Linked DNA regions of Homo sapiens: region 1 is linked to region 2. Evidence: promoter capture Hi-C in human tissues and cell types (Jung and others, 2019). All regions are on one chromosome and are shown on one strand. Each heading gives the region's core, a stretch centred on a gene start or on the middle of the fragment in contact. The rest is flanking DNA. Distances are from core to core; before and after follow the strand shown.

Evidence for each region. The method cuts DNA at HindIII sites, captures the fragments that hold promoters and counts their contacts. A contact is called where the count stands out against the background at its distance.
Region 1: a fragment that was not itself captured here is called in contact with the fragment with the promoter of B3GNT9 in region 2 in 4 of the 25 tissues and cell types used here (aorta, hippocampus, mesenchymal stem cells and 1 more).

What each region holds. Positions count from the first base shown.
Region 1 is chr16:67,032,572-67,040,119 of GRCh38, forward strand. CBFB (core-binding factor subunit beta) reads left to right here. Exons shown (of 6, transcript NM_022845.3): 3 at 4,068-4,184. Among named protein-coding and RNA genes, the nearest start is that of CBFB, 7.2 kb to the left of the region's middle. The HindIII fragment of the contact is 6,179 bases long and covers 1-4,363 here.
Region 2 is chr16:67,148,120-67,155,502 of GRCh38, forward strand. It overlaps B3GNT9 (UDP-GlcNAc:betaGal beta-1,3-N-acetylglucosaminyltransferase 9), which reads right to left and starts at 2,879. Exons shown (of 2, transcript NM_033309.3): 1 at 2,746-2,879; 2 at 1-2,552. The coding sequence starts at 2,366. The coding sequence ends at 1,158. PHAF1 (phagophore assembly factor 1) reads left to right here. Exons shown (of 16, transcript NM_025187.5): 16 at 1-425. It overlaps TRADD (TNFRSF1A associated via death domain), which reads right to left. Exons shown (of 5, transcript NM_003789.4): 3 at 7,258-7,383; 4 at 6,977-7,175; 5 at 6,066-6,840. The coding sequence ends at 6,530. RefSeq lists silencers at 2,235-2,664, 2,675-2,834, 7,331-7,383. The HindIII fragment of the contact is 9,280 bases long and covers 2,857-7,383 here.

The DNA of each region.
Region 1 (7,548 bases), core at 24-2,523, 120 kb before region 2:
TCCTAGAGGGTAGAGACCTCATTAATTTTGTATAAACCCCTCTGGATACAGCTATTTTTCACAATACCTTTTATATCAGAGGTACTTGATTATTTGAATTTAGAGGCTGCTTAATTTAATGCCTGAAATTTATCTCATGACTTATGAACAGGCTGGGTTTCTTCCTATTTGGCTGTGGAAAAAGGCATTATTTTGCCTGTTTTGACAGCAGCCATAAATGGCAAGGATATCCATAGTTCTCAAAACTATTCCCAACCTTTCTCCTGCCCCAGTTGTCCTCTTCTTATTTGGAACATCTTCTTGATGTATCAGTGAGGTTAATGAAGAATTCATTTTGCTGTTGCCCAGGCTGGAGTGCAGTGGCATGATCTTGGCTCAGTGCAACCTCCGTCCCCCATGTTCAAGTGATTGTCTTGACCCAGCCTCCTGAGTAGCTGGAATTACAGGCGTATACCACCATGCCCAGCTAATTTTTGTATTTTTAGTAGAGACGGAGTTTCACCATGTTTGCCAGGCTGGTCTCAAACTCCTGACCTCAGGTGATCCACCGACCTCGGCCTCCCAAAGTGCTGGGATTACAGGCGTGAGCCACCACTCCCAGCCTCATTTTGCATTTAGATGTGAAATAATTTAAGGGCTGTGTTGATCATCTCTCTTTAACTATAAAACTCAATCAGCCTCCTTATTTTATGCCAATTGAGTTTTTAACTGTAAAACCCAATCAGCATTAAATAAAAGTGAACACAGGTCGAAGAATCTGTAGTAGAATCTGATTTATTCTTTTTTGAGACTGGATCTTACTCTGTCACTCTGGCTGGAGTGCAGTGGTGCCATCTCCGTTCACTGCAACCTCCACCTCCTGCTTCAGCCTCCTGACTTGCTGGGATTACAGGCGCCTGCCACCACGCCTGGCTGGTTTTTGTATTTTTAGTAGAGATGGGTTTCACCATGTTGGCCAGGCTGGTCTCCAACTGCTGGCCTCAAGTGATGTGCCTGCCTCAGTGAGCCACTGCACCCAGCCTTGATTTATTCTTATCAATTCTTTTTTTTTTTTTTTTGAGACGGAGTCTTGCTCTGTCGCCCAGGCTGGAGTGCAGTGGCACGATCTCGGCTCACTGCAAGCTCCGCCTCCTGGGTTCACGCCATTCTCCCGCTTCAGCCTCCCGAGTAACTGGGACTACAGTCGCCTGCCACCACACCCGGCTAATTTGTTTTTGTATTTTTAGTAGAGACAGAGTTTCACCGTTGTTTTTTTTTTTTTTTTTTTTGAGACGGCGTCTTGCACTGTCGGCTAGGCTGGAGTGCAATGGCACGATCTTGGCTCTCGGCTCACTGCAACCTCTGCCTCCTGGGTTCACACGATTCTCCTGCCTCAGCCTCCCGAGTAGCTAGGATTACAGGCGCACACCACCACACCCGGCTAATTTTTTGTATTTTTAGTAGAGGTGGGGTTTCACTATATTGGCCAGACTGGTGTTAAACTTCTGACTTCGTGATCTGCCTGTGTTGGCCTCCCAAAGTGCTGGGATTACAGGCTTGAGCCACTGCACCCGGCCTATTCTTACCAATTCTTATGTAGTTAAGAATGTTGGAGACGTCTTCAACACTAATAATCAAATAAAGAAAAAATATTTATAAGAAGTATGGTTACTCTGTGGTGAGAAGAGTAAAAACTAATACATATTTCTAATTCTAAAGATTGAATGGTAAAAAGTATGTTGGATTGGCACAAGGTGTGCTATTTTATAATTTGTGAAACCTACAAAGCATAAGACAACCTGGAAATCTTAAATATAGGCGTCATACTAGTGTAGCATTTTAATGTTTTCATTTTGTTTATTTTCGTCTTTATTTTCCTATGACGATGTTGACACCATATTAATATTTTGGAACAGACTTTTTCCAACTCTTACCTATATGTAGGTATTTCATTAAAAGAATTCCATGGTCACATAAGTTTGGAAAATGTTATTCTAGAATGATCTGTGTTTACCACTTCTGTCTCAGAGAGGGATCTTTATGAGATAATGGACATATAGTGATGAAGCAGGAAATCTCTTCTGAGGTTGGCATCAAGACAGGAGATGAGGTAATACGATCTGCAGAGTGTCTTAGCACAGAACTGATTTGGGGTACACTGGAGGTGGAAGGATTTGCTACTACGTGAATACTGAAGAAACAAGCCACAGGGATTTTGACACGGGGCAGTCGTTCATGGGCTGTGTCTTTTCTGCCACCACTCTGCTCTGAGAATTTCATTATCTGAAGCTGAAAAAGTTGGCTTTCTTGTTGAGCTTAAAGTTATTTATCATATTATTCAGCAGACACTTTCATAGCATTTACTTGGTACTGTTTTAAGCACTTTACAAATAATTGATTTGTGAGAAAACTGAATTATGCTTCAGGTCGTACAGCCTGGGCAGTTTCCCTCCCAGAAACTTTTTTTTTTTTTAACTAGTGTTGGGGGGTTTTTTGTTAAGATTTATGCTCGTAGTACATGGGAAGTTTTTTTTGTTTTTTGTTTTTGTGATGGAGTCTCGCCTTGTTGTCCAGGCTGGAGCACAGTGGTGCAATCTCGGCTGACTGCATGCAACCTCTGCCTCCCAGGTTCAAGTGATTCTCCTGCCTCATCCTCCCAAGTAGCTGGGATTACAGGCGTCTGCCACCATGCCCAGCTAATTTTTTGTATTTTTAGTAGAGACAGGGTTTCACCATGTTGGCCAGGCTGGTCTTGTACTCCTGACCTCAGATGGTCTACCTGCCTTGCCTCCCAAAGGGCTGGGATTACGAGTGTGAACCACTGCTCCTGGCCTGAAAGATTTTTTAAAATGATGTTGTAATATTGATGTTAGTTCAGTTTCTATGGATATAAAACATTTACCACATGAAAATGGTACCCCAGTTGATTAGGGAAATGCCATCAGAGAGGTTTAGAGATTTAGCATTTAGGTTGACAAGTGTACCGACAGTGCCAGTAATAGAAATAGGAAGTATAATTTTTACCTCTAAAGAATCTAAGCTGTTAACCATCAGGGGAACTATTGGATAGCTAACTTGGTTGATGGCTTTAAACAAATTGCCCCAAATGTGAACCTCTTGATTTGAGATGAAGACTCTATGCATGGAAACCAATTATGCTTCAGAACTTAATTAGTAGAATAAACCAAACAAAAAACTTTTTCTGGTTTCAGCAAAGAAGAGTTTACATTTAGATGATGAAAAATGTATTTTTTCAAAAATGCTTTTACTTCTTTTTTTCTTAATTTCCTTTGGGAAAGGGGTAATGTCTTTGTTTTTTGCCTGAGGGAAATATAGAGGTAACTTGCTCAAGGCCTACATAAAATGACACTTTATTGAAGTGGTTTTAGATTGTTGCATCTGTTGAGCTCTAACATCCAAATCTTTTATATTTATAAATCTAATCTATAAATATTTATTAGATGAATACTTTTCTCTTTGTTGTAGTCAGACCAAGTTCTCCTAAAGTCAAATGTGAGAAAAGACATATTTTTAAAAATCATCTAGGGTTTTAGAGAGTACTGTCACATCCCATGCCAATGTATGGTTTATCAGAGGAGAGACAATTCCAAGTGCATTTTTTATGTACTGCCTGCTATGCAGTGTTTCAGCAAGGGAAATCAAGGAAAATTAAAGTGTCTCATTTATACAATTTTAAATTGTGGTATTCTTTAAAATTCAAAATCTTTAGATTTTGAGTGATTTTTACATTTAAAAATAGAAGTTTTTAAATGCAGAGATGGATAGTGGCTTCTGGTTAGACATTAGCAGTGTGAGATCCTAACGTCAGCAAAAAATGACCTGAAAGAAAGTATTGATTCCATGTCTGATTTTATACTTAAGCAGCCAATGGCAAATGTCCTCAAAATGGAATCAGATGTTTGTAACTTAATACTTAAGAAAAATGATGAGTGCATGTTTTTTTTTACTTTTAAGTATTCTCTGTGCTGCCTGGCTTAAGACATAAACTGATGTAAAAATAAATGACTGCTTGCATAATTTATGTAATGTCCTGCTCCTGATCCTGTTTGTATTGATTTTTCTAAAAGGCTTTTGTGGCCACAGGAACCAATCTGTCTCTCCAGTTTTTTCCGGCCAGCTGGCAGGGAGAACAGCGACAAACACCTAGCCGAGAGTATGTCGACTTAGAAAGAGAAGCAGGCAAGGTAGGAAACATTTCTTTGCAATTTAAAATACTGTGGGTTGTTTTGTTAGAGATTATCTGGTAATTTACATTTTAATAAAGATCACAGATCTGATTATACCAGCATATGCTCAGATTTGTTTTCATTCCATGTTATAAGGATGTAATATAATTTTTTTTTTTTAATGGCGTTTCGCTCTTGTTGCCCAGGCTGGAGTGCAGTGGCGTGATGTTGGTTCACTGCAATCTCCGCCTTCCAGTTTCAAGCGATTCTCCTGCCTCAGCCTCCTGAGTAGCTGGGATTACAGGTACCCGCCACCACATCTGACTAATTTTTGTATTTTTAGTGGAGATGGGGTTTCACCATGTTGGCCAGGCTGGTCTCGAACTCCTGACCTTGTGATCCGCCCACCTCTGCCTCCCAAAGTGTTGGGATTACAGGCGTGAGCCACTGTGCCCGGCCAATATAATTTTTTAAAACCACTGTTAAACTTTTGTATCACTCCATTCCTAATTTCATGTACATAATATTTGTCATAGAACATTCTAACCCTTAAGGAAAGTAACATAACAATTTCTTTAAAAGTTTGAGGAGATATATTTTGTTTACAAAAATATATGTAAGTATAGTGCTATAAAAATAAAACAAGAGGAAAACGGAAAAAAGCTCTCTAGGTTTAAAAATTAATAGTATTTAGAAATAGCTCATAGGTAACTTTCTAATTCCATTAACAGCAAATTTACATTTGAGAAAAACAATGTGAAAACTTTAACTTGGAAATACTTTTTTTTTGTTTTGAGAAAAAGTTTCTGGGAACATGTCTTACAGTTTCGATGTTAGAAGTTTAGGTTAAAGATACAAAAATATAGGTAAAATGTTTAAGCTGAGAGCCTTATTTCAGGTCTACGTTAAATGTATTATGATTTTGGTAATTTTTTTTTTTTTTTTTTTGAGATGGAGTCTCCCTCTGTTGCCCAGGCTGGAGTGCAGTGGTGTGATCTTGGCTCACAGCAACCTCCACCTCCTGGGTTTTAAGCTATTCTCCTGCCTCAGCCTCCTGAGTAGCTGGGATTACAGGTGTGCGCCACCACGCCTGGCTAATTTTTTTGTATTTTTAGTAGAGACAGGGTTTCCCCATATTGGTCAGGCTGGTCTTGAACTCCTGACCATGTGATCCACCTGCCTCTGCCTCCCAAAGTGGTGGGATTATAGGAGTGAGCTACTGCACCTGGCCTGGTAAATTTTAATGAATAGCATCTTGGATTGGTTGATTCTTGATTGAGAAGTCAAGGAGTTGACTTCTAGAATAAAATTTTTAAAGAAGAAACCCTCTTTTAAATATAGTTTTATACTCAAAACACCCTTTTGGATCCAGTTTCATACTTTTTTTGTGTGTGTTTGTTTTGCAGTGTGTTTTTGTACCCGTTTCTATCAACTTACTAAATTAATTTTCTAAGTGTCATCATGAATAGCATAACCTGCCACATTTATGTAAAATGTGAGAAATGTCTAAATATTCCTTTGAGAAATATTTAATTTAATCTTGTGTGTATATATATATATACACGTATATATGTGTATATATACGTATATGTGTGTGTATATATGTATATATGTGTGTGTATATACGTATATGTGTGTATGTATATACATATATATGTATATATAAAATGAATTTTTTGTTTTCTCCAATTCTGTAGAATTAGATTTGATCTTTTGTGCGTGACAAAACAATCTTTGGATTAGAAAAGGGAAAACAGATTATAAGATTTAAAAAAATGAGTACTAAGCAAGCAGTTTGCTTTCCTGTGTATTAGCTTGTTTGCTTGGAAAATTAAAAGTGAATGTTCCAGATTTTACTATTTGGTAATTCTTACACAATATATAAGGAAGAATTTGAGAAGTCCTTGTACGATTATTGGTTTTTTTGTGCTTCTGGTGCGTGTATGTGTGACTAAATGAAGAAATTATTTTTTTTCTTGTTTGAATACTTCCTTAAAGTTTGTTTAACATGGTAGCTCAGATACTAAAGACGTAAACCAAAAAAAAAAAAAATTTGTTTTTTGTCAGCTTTAGCCCAAAACTATTTTAAGACTTCAAGGGCAACATCTCAGTGTTACTGAAGTCTTCCGGTATTTAATAACTAGTAAATGGGTTGTTAACTCTACCAGAAATTAAGTTTGCTTGAATTAATTTAATGATACTGCTTCACTAGTGTGAAGACCACATAATCCTTGGACTTAAACCATTGAGATGTTTTTAGTTATATGACCAAAAATAACAAAAATGTGAGATGGTTTATTCTAGTACAGTCATGTGTCACTTAATGGTAGGGATATGTTCTGGGAAATGTGTTGCTGGGTGATTTTTATCATTGTGTATATATAGAGTGTACTTACACAGATCTAGATGGTATAGCCTACTACACACTTAGGCTATCTGGTATAGTCTGTTGCTCCTAGGCTACAAACCTGTACTGTACAGCATGTTACCGTACTGAATACTGTAGTCAACTGTAACACAATTTGGTAAGTATTTGTGTATCTTGATGTATCTAAACATAGAAAAGATATGGTAAAAATACAGTATTTAAAAAATGGTATACCTGTATAGGGCACTTACTTTGAATGGAGCTTGCAGGACTGGAAGTTGCTCTGGGTCAGTCAGTTGAGTAAGTGGTGAATGAATGTGATTCTGTAGATTATATAAACATAGTATGCTTAGGCCGCACTAAATCTATAAAAATTAAGCAATTGCACTGCAATGTTAAAATGGCTATGATGTCACTAGGCAATAGGAATTTTTCAGATTCATTATAATCTTACAAGACCACTGTCATATATGTGATCCATTTTAGGCTGTAACGTTGTTAAAGCAATACATGAATGTATTAAAAAGATATGTTTTTAATTCTATTAGGAAGAGTGATAGAACTATGCAGGCTATCAGGAAATGTACATTTTATTAATACTGGTTTTAGAAGTTTTTTTTTCTGTGAAGGGACAAATGTAAATGTTTTCAGTTTTGCAGGCTTTCAGTCTCTGTCACAACTACTCATCTCTGTAACTCTGCTGTTGTGGTGTGAAAGGGACCCTAGACAATATGTAAACAATTGAGTGTGGCTGTGTTCCATAAATGGTGACACTGGTAGAAATCAGTATCTTTCCCTCAGATGTAAATCTGTAAATGTTTATGCATAGGTCATGTATTTCTCAGATAGAATTTTGTCAACATCTGTACTACTTCTGTACTACTTTTTTTCTAGAAGAAAAAAAAGCATTTTAAGGCAAAAACTCGTACTGTACTGTTCCGTGCCACTGTAATAAAGTTCTCCAGTGAATTTAGAGAAAAGGCATTGCCCTGTGTTTTCTCATCCGTGGAGCTC
Region 2 (7,383 bases), core at 1,629-4,128:
TTAATATTTTGGTCTAGCAACTTGTGATACATAGATGACAATTTTGTGAGTTTTTCAAATGTGTGTACAGATTTTTGTAAATATGACTCTTTTGTAATTAACTCATGTACAGCCTCATCCTGTATAGTTTAATGATGAATGTGCAGGGGACCTGTCTCAGGCTCCTATATGGTTCCTGGGCCTTATAGCCAGGTTTGTGTGGCGCTCCCGACTTTTGTGACTGACTGGTGTCTTCCCATTTGGACTGTGGCCTGGCCAGAGCCCCTTGCATATCCCCACTGTCAGGGGCAGCCAGGACTGTTCCCATCCTCCTGGAATGGGGGAACCTTCCTTATCCCCTGCCCACATCCCCTCTCCAATAAAGCACCTGTGCCCTCAGCAATGGCCTGCCATGTGCTGTTGCTGGGATGTTTGTATTAAGGTAAGTGTGGGTATTGGTTTTTTGAGCAAGGGGGTGGTTGAAGCATATGGGGAAATTAATAGTGGTGGCATCTCAGGGGAAGACATTCCTTGGCTCCTCTGAGGGGATACAGCCTCCAGTGGGAGACTGGCATTGTTGTGTGAGTTCAGGAGGTGAGGAAAGACTAGGTAGGACCGTGCACTCATTTGTCCCTTATGTGTGGCTCCATCCCTGGTGCTCAGCCACACCTGGGCCCAGGAGAGGTTGTGGGAAGCATAATATCTGTTTTCAGATGAGCTATGGCAAAGTGCCTGCCAGGTTCATGAATTCAGGCTGTGGCGGCCGGAGCCCCTCCACCTCCCTGTGGGGCCTGGCCTTGAGAGCCTCTGCATACGTCCGCGTCAGCCTAGGGGGTTCCAAATCCAGCAGAGTGGTAGGATTCCCTAAGTCCCTGCCACCACACCAGAACACACCTCTGTGCTACTAGGAGGACCAGACATATCCACTGCTCTGGGACCTGTTGGACAAGAGATGGTCATCTACCACCCAGCCTTGGCTCGCTCAAAGGGTCACCATTACACGGGTTTCAACTGGTTCCAGCAGGGTGGACCGCCAGGAGCCAAGCTTAACCCCCATCCCCTGGGATCCTGTGGAGACAGGCACCTGGTGATCAGGGAAGAACCACATACACGGCAATAATCTGGGAAACCGGCTCCATTCTGGGTCTGAGTTAGGAGCTTGGGGCTGTAGTGGGGAGCTAGGAGTCCCATTGGAAGGGGCCTGCAGCGACAGGCTGTGGATGCGCACAGGCTGGCCCATGCGGCCCGTGCAGCAGGCGCCACATAAGCCAGATGTCAGCGGCCGAGAGCCCGTGCACTACAACCAGCTCACGGTAAAAGCAGGGGTCGAAGGTGCTCAAATGCGGCGCGGCTGAAGGCTGGGGGATGCCAAAGGTGCGGAAGGCAGGGTGAGGCTCGGGCGTGAGCCGCAGGCGCTGCAGACACATGCCCAGAAAGACGTCGTCGATGGGGAAGAGCTCGACCTGCGCACAGGCGCCAGCCAGGCGGTGCAGCGTGGCCCCGGAAAGCACAAAGCCACCGCCGCCCGCGTAGGCCGGATAGGCGGGCAGGCCGTACACGGCCTCGGGGATGTAGTACTTGCTAGCCCGCGTGCGGATGGGCCGCGCATGCACAATTACGTCACCAGCAAGCAGGTCTTGCGCCGGGTCCCGCGGCGCCAGGAACTCCAGGAGATTTCCCACGTTCACGAACACATCTGCGTCGCCCTTAAAAACGAAGCGCACGTCGGGGCAGAAAGCTGAGGCCCAGGCTAGAAAGTGGATCTCCTTGAGCGTTAGGTTAAAAAAGGTGTCGTCGAAGGCCCAGAGCAGGATGTCCGCATACGCAAGGCTCTCGGCCCGCAGCAGGGCGCGCCAGTGGGTTCGCGCGCCCTCCCCAACTTCGTCGGCCCCGCCCGAGCCTGCGCCCCTGGGCACGCCCAGCAAGAACACGCGGCGCACCAGCGCCCCCTGCACGCGACCCTCCGCGCCCCACGTCTGGCGCACGGCTTGGCGCCGCTCGAAGTCCTCTGCCACCGACTTGACAGCAATAAGCAGGTCCGGGCGGCCACCGGGTGCGCCGTCGCCGCGGCACTTGTGCGGCTGGTTAATGAGCAGTGGAAACCGCCGCTGGTCCTTGGCGCGCAAATAGCGGGCGAAGTCAAAGGGTCCCGTAGGCGTGGGCGGCGCCGGTGTGTCCCCTTCGTAGGCCGGCGGGGCTGCACCCGCGTCGGGTAACTGGAACGCGCGGGGTCCGGGGGTGGGCCTCGGTGCCGCCCTCCCTCGCCCTCGCGGCGCGCTCGCCGTCGGGGCCGCGCCGTCGCGCTGCGCATAGAGTAAGAGGCCCAGGGAGGCGCCAAGGAGCAGCGTGAGCAATGCGTCCCTGCGTAGGCGCAGCCTCCTCCTCATCTCCGCGCGGCCTGCGCCCTCCCTCCCCTGTAAGGGTCGCAGTCGGCAGCAGGGGGCAGCGAGCCCCGCCCTCCCCAGCTGAGGGGGCGGGAGGCCACGCCCCGGGGGGGGCTCCAGCGACCGACGGTTGAGCCCCTTGCGTTGTTCTCCTCCTCCCGGCCGTGTCGCACCGCCGGGACCGGCAGCCTGAAGGGACAAGAAGTTCACCCATGTAGCCAACTCCCCCGCGGCCTCAGCTCCGGCCCAGGACTGCGACCCAGGGCCGGGCAGGGAGACTGGGAGCCTCGGCCCCTCCCCCGCCCGCCTCCCTCGCGCTGAGGCCGAATCCCTTCCACCCTGCCATCCCCTCAATGTCGGGCCCTGGGGTCCCGACACTCACGCTCGGCCCTCGGAAGTGGCGCAGCCCCGGACGCCCTGGCCTCCGGGGCTCAGCGCAGGGTCCGAGGGGCCGCCATGGACCGGGCCCGAGCCAAATGCAGCGTTGGCAGGAAGGGGGACCGGTGCCGTGCCACGTGACCCTCCAGCTGTGCGCGCCCAGACTTCTGGAGCTCAGCTCCGCCCCGGCGCCAGGAGCACTCCGGCCTCAGAGTGGGGACTAATCCCTGAGAGGGAGCCTCCTCACTCTCAGTCCCTCTGGGAAGGGCTGGTCTGGGTGCTCACACCCCAAATTCGCCTTTCTGGGGATTGGGAAGAAGCATCAACTCCCCTGGTTAGCTCCCCCAACTATCCACTCCCCACTCCCGCGTCTCTGGAGTGGGGCGGAGCCTGGGCTGCTAGGAGCCCCTGAGCAGGCCGGTTCCAAATGCGCATGAACCTGGCCACCATCCCGGGCGGGCCTCTCCTCAGCAGCCCTGATTCCATCAGGCAGGGTGCATACGCTGCCCCCGAGACACATGGCTGTCTTCTTACTCCTGGTTCTGCCATGCTCCCCACCCCCAGTAAACACACGCACGGGACAAACAAGGCAGCCCACCCAATCCTCAGGGCAACTCTGCCAGCAGCTCTCATTCATGCCCAGATGGGGACACTGGGGGGCTCTTCGGGGAGTTAAGTGACTTGCCCAGGATCCAAAGGCCAGAAAGCTCTGCCCCCAGGTCTTCTGAAATTCAGGCCAGGATTATTTTATCTGTCCTTGCCCCGCTCATTCATCCACTGGGATACAGAACAGGGGGCCAACCCAGTCTGCTTTAATTTCACAGGCAAGCACTTCAGCCTGTCTCCCCGGGGGCTAATGGACCTGAGCCCAAGCCAGGTGCAGTTCTGAGTCCCCTGGTCCCCAGCATAGCCTACTGCAGGTAGAAATGATCAGGCCTGTGCAGCTGCAGGTCAGACAGGGCTGGCAAGGATGGGGACAGCTTGGGAAGACTCCTGGCGGAGGCCTTGGCTAAAGGATTGCTCTGGGATGCAGGTGGACAGAGGTGCTCTGCAATGGAGAGCTAAGTCCTTGCGCAGCTCAGCTGCCAGCTCTCTCTTTCTTGGTCCCAGCCCATGTGGTGGAGCCTGGAATAGACAGCCTCTACTGGTCTCTTAAGAACCCAGCCCCATCCTCTGTCCAAGGGCTATATCTGCTCCTGACGGCTTCTTCCCACCAATGTTCAATCTTAAAAAGCCACCTCTCTGGCTGGGTGTGGTGGCTTATGCCTGTAACCTCAACACTTTGGGAGGCTGAGGTGAGTGGATCACTTGAGGTCAGGAAGTCAAGACCAGCCTGGCCAACGTGGTGAAACCCCCATCTCTACTAAAAATACAAAAATTAGCTAGACATGGTGGTGGGCACCTGTAATCCCAGCTACTTAGAGGGCTGAGGCAGGAGAATTGCTTGAACCTGGAAGGTGGAGGTTGCAGTGAGCCAAGAACACACCACTGCACTCCATCCTGGGCAACAGAGCGAGACTGTCTCAAAAAAAAAAAAAGGCCAGTCGTGGTGGCTTACTCCTGTAATCCCAACACTTTGGGAGGCCAAGGCAGGTGGATCACTTGAGGCCAGGAGTTTGAGACCAGCCTGGCCAACATGGAGAAACCCTGTCTCTATTAAAAATACAAAAATTAGCCAGGTATGGTGGCACGTGCCTGTAATCCCAGGTACTTGGGAGGCTGAGGCAGGAAAATCACTTGAACCCGGGAGACGAAGGCTGCAATGAGCCGAGATCGTGCCACTGCACTCCAACCTGGCAACAGAGTGAGACTCTCTCCAAAAAAAAAAAAAAAAAAAAAAGCCAAATCTCCACCCTGAGCCTTACTCTTTTTGGTCACAAAGTAATCAGGAGTCCTCTGCTCCAGCTTTCTCCGCGGCCTCACCTTCCATTCCCTCCTGTGATAAAGCTTCGGGCTGCCTCCACCATGACTCAGAAAGACCCCTGACTGGTAAGCTCCTTTTAACTGAGTCCAACAGACACTCCTCGGTCTTGACTACCCGCTCCATTATAGTGGGTGGGTAATCCCCTGGTTTCCAAATCTCCTGGTTTTCCTCCTTCCTCTTTGGCTGTTCCCATTCTGGTTGGTGTCCTTCAGGACATCCCCTGGGGCCACCCCACCCACTCCCCACCTGTCTATTCATCAATCTTTAGATTGAACCCTCATCCTGAACTCAGAACTACAGACCCAACTACCCTCATACTCTCTCCCCGGATGCACTGCAGGAACATCATGCTCAACTTGTCCCAAACAGAGCAAGCATTTCATTTCCCCCCAGGGCCCCATCCCAGCAAGCAGTCCCACCCACCATCCAACTGGCAAAGGCAGAAACTTGGGGCCCTCTCTCAGCCATTCCTCACCCAGTGTCACCAGGCCTGTTACTCTTCCACCCACACAGCTCTTTGGTGGTCATCCCCTTCCCTCCATCTCTGCTGCTACTGCCCCAGCCTGGGGCCACCATTTCCCCCACCCCCATCCTCATCAACCTCCCAGTCTTGGCCAGGTGCGGTGGCACATGCCTGTAATCCCAGCACTTTGGGAGACCAAGGTGGGTGGATCACCTGAGGTCAGGAGTTTGAGACCAGCCTGACCAACATGGAGAAACCCCATCTCTACTAAAAATACAAAATTAGCTGGGCATGGTGGTGGGCGCCTGTAATCCCAGCTACTTGGGAGGCTGAAACAGGAGAATTGCTTGAACCCAGGAGGTGGAGGTTGCAGTGAGCCAAAAACGTGCCATTACACTACAGCCTGGGAAATAAGAGTGAAGCTCCATCTGAAAAAAAATTAAAATTAAAAAAAAAAAAAAAACAACCACCTCCCAGTCTTAACTCCCGAAACTCTTCAAAGGCTTCCTACTGGCCTCATTGAAAAACCCACAAGCCTTCCTCAAGCCCTTGCCTGAGACTGTGCCCCGAACACTGCCCTTCTCTCGATAGCCCACCCCTATGCCTACTCACACTCATCTCCTCCAGGAAGCCTACCCCCTGTCCCCTGCCCAGGTTAGGCCCCTTCCTCCATCCTCCACAACTTCTCTTTTTTTTTCTTTCTTTTTTTTTTTTTTTTTTTGAGACAGGGTCTCACTCTGTCACCCAGGCTGGAGTGCAGTAGCTCAGTGACATCTCACTGCAGCCTCAACCTTCCATGCTCCAGGGATCCTCCCACCTCAGCCTCCTAAGTGGCTGGGACTACCCAGGCTGGTCTCAAACTCCTGAGCTCAAGCAATCCTCCTATCTCTGTCTCCCAAATTGTTGGGATTACAGGTGTAAGCCACTACTACTTGTATTTCTCACATCAAAATCCGTGTTATACTTTATTATCATTGCTTAACATTCGGGGTCCCACGCTGAGTGTGAGCTGGGGGCAGGCAAGATTGATTCCTGTTTTACTTCACTGCAGTATCTGCAGCACCCAGGATGAAGTCCAGGACACCAAAGATCAAGGTGCTTCATGAGTGAAACTGTAAGGGCTGGCTGTAAGCCCCGCTTCTGGGATGGGAGAAGGTGAGGCTGATCTCCAAAGCAGGTCCCCCCCACCCCACACTCTATCAAAGTACCTGAGGCAGAATCCCCAATGATGCACCCCCAGTGGTCTGGCTCCTGGGGAAGGCAATCAACTCTGCCCCAGCAGGTCCAGCAGATAGGCCAAGTGGAGTTTCAGGGTCCCGTGGATGGACAGGGGTTCAGCAATAGCCGCAGAAGGAACCCTAAGGCCATCCAGGTTCTCCAAAAGCTGGCTGCACCCCTGGTCTAGGCCAGGCCGCCATTGGGATCGGTCAGGCCCAGCAAGTCCTCTGCCAGGCTGGTGAGCTCGTTCTCCTCGAGTGCCTCCACCAGGCGCTGCAGCGTGGCGCGGCGGCCCTCGGCCTGCACGAAGCGCCGCAGCAGCTGGAAGGCCTGCTCGTACAGTCCCTCGCGCTCGTACTCGTAGGCCAGCGAGTCCAGCGCCGGGTCCCGCAGCGCCCGGCAGCCTCGCTGCAGTGAGCGCCCCACCTTGCGCCATTTGAGACCCACAGAGCGCGCGAACGTCTGTTGGTCCTTCAGGCTCAGCGGCCGATTCACTGCAGAGGGAGTGGGGAAACGGGGTGAGGGCGGGGACCCCCAGCGCCGGTCCCACCCATCCCCACCCGGCAACGACCCCTGCCCCTCCCCAGACTCCAACCTCCTGGTGACCCCGCCTCTCCACCTGCGCCTCACCTACAGGCTGACCCTGGAACAGAAAAGTCTGGGCAGGTGGCGGCGGCGGCGGCGGCTTCACCTCCGACAGAGAGGGCACCGGGGGCTGCAAGGGGGCCGAAGCGACCTCCCCGTCGCCACCCCGGGCCCCCGAGCCGCACTTCAGATTTCGCAGCGCATCCTCCAGCTCAGCCAGTTCTTCATCCCGGAGCCGGTCGGGCTAGGGGAATGGAACGTGCCGTCACGGGGGACTTAACCGCGGATCCCCGCCCTACCCCATCCTGACCCTAGCCCGGCCGCACCTGCTGGGCTAGGATGCAACTCAAACAGCGCTCCTCGTCCGCCAGCAAAGCGTCCAGCCGCTCGGCGCCGGCGCGCAGCTCCAGTTGCAGCGGCACCGAGTGCTGGGCGAGCGCGGCCGCCAGGCT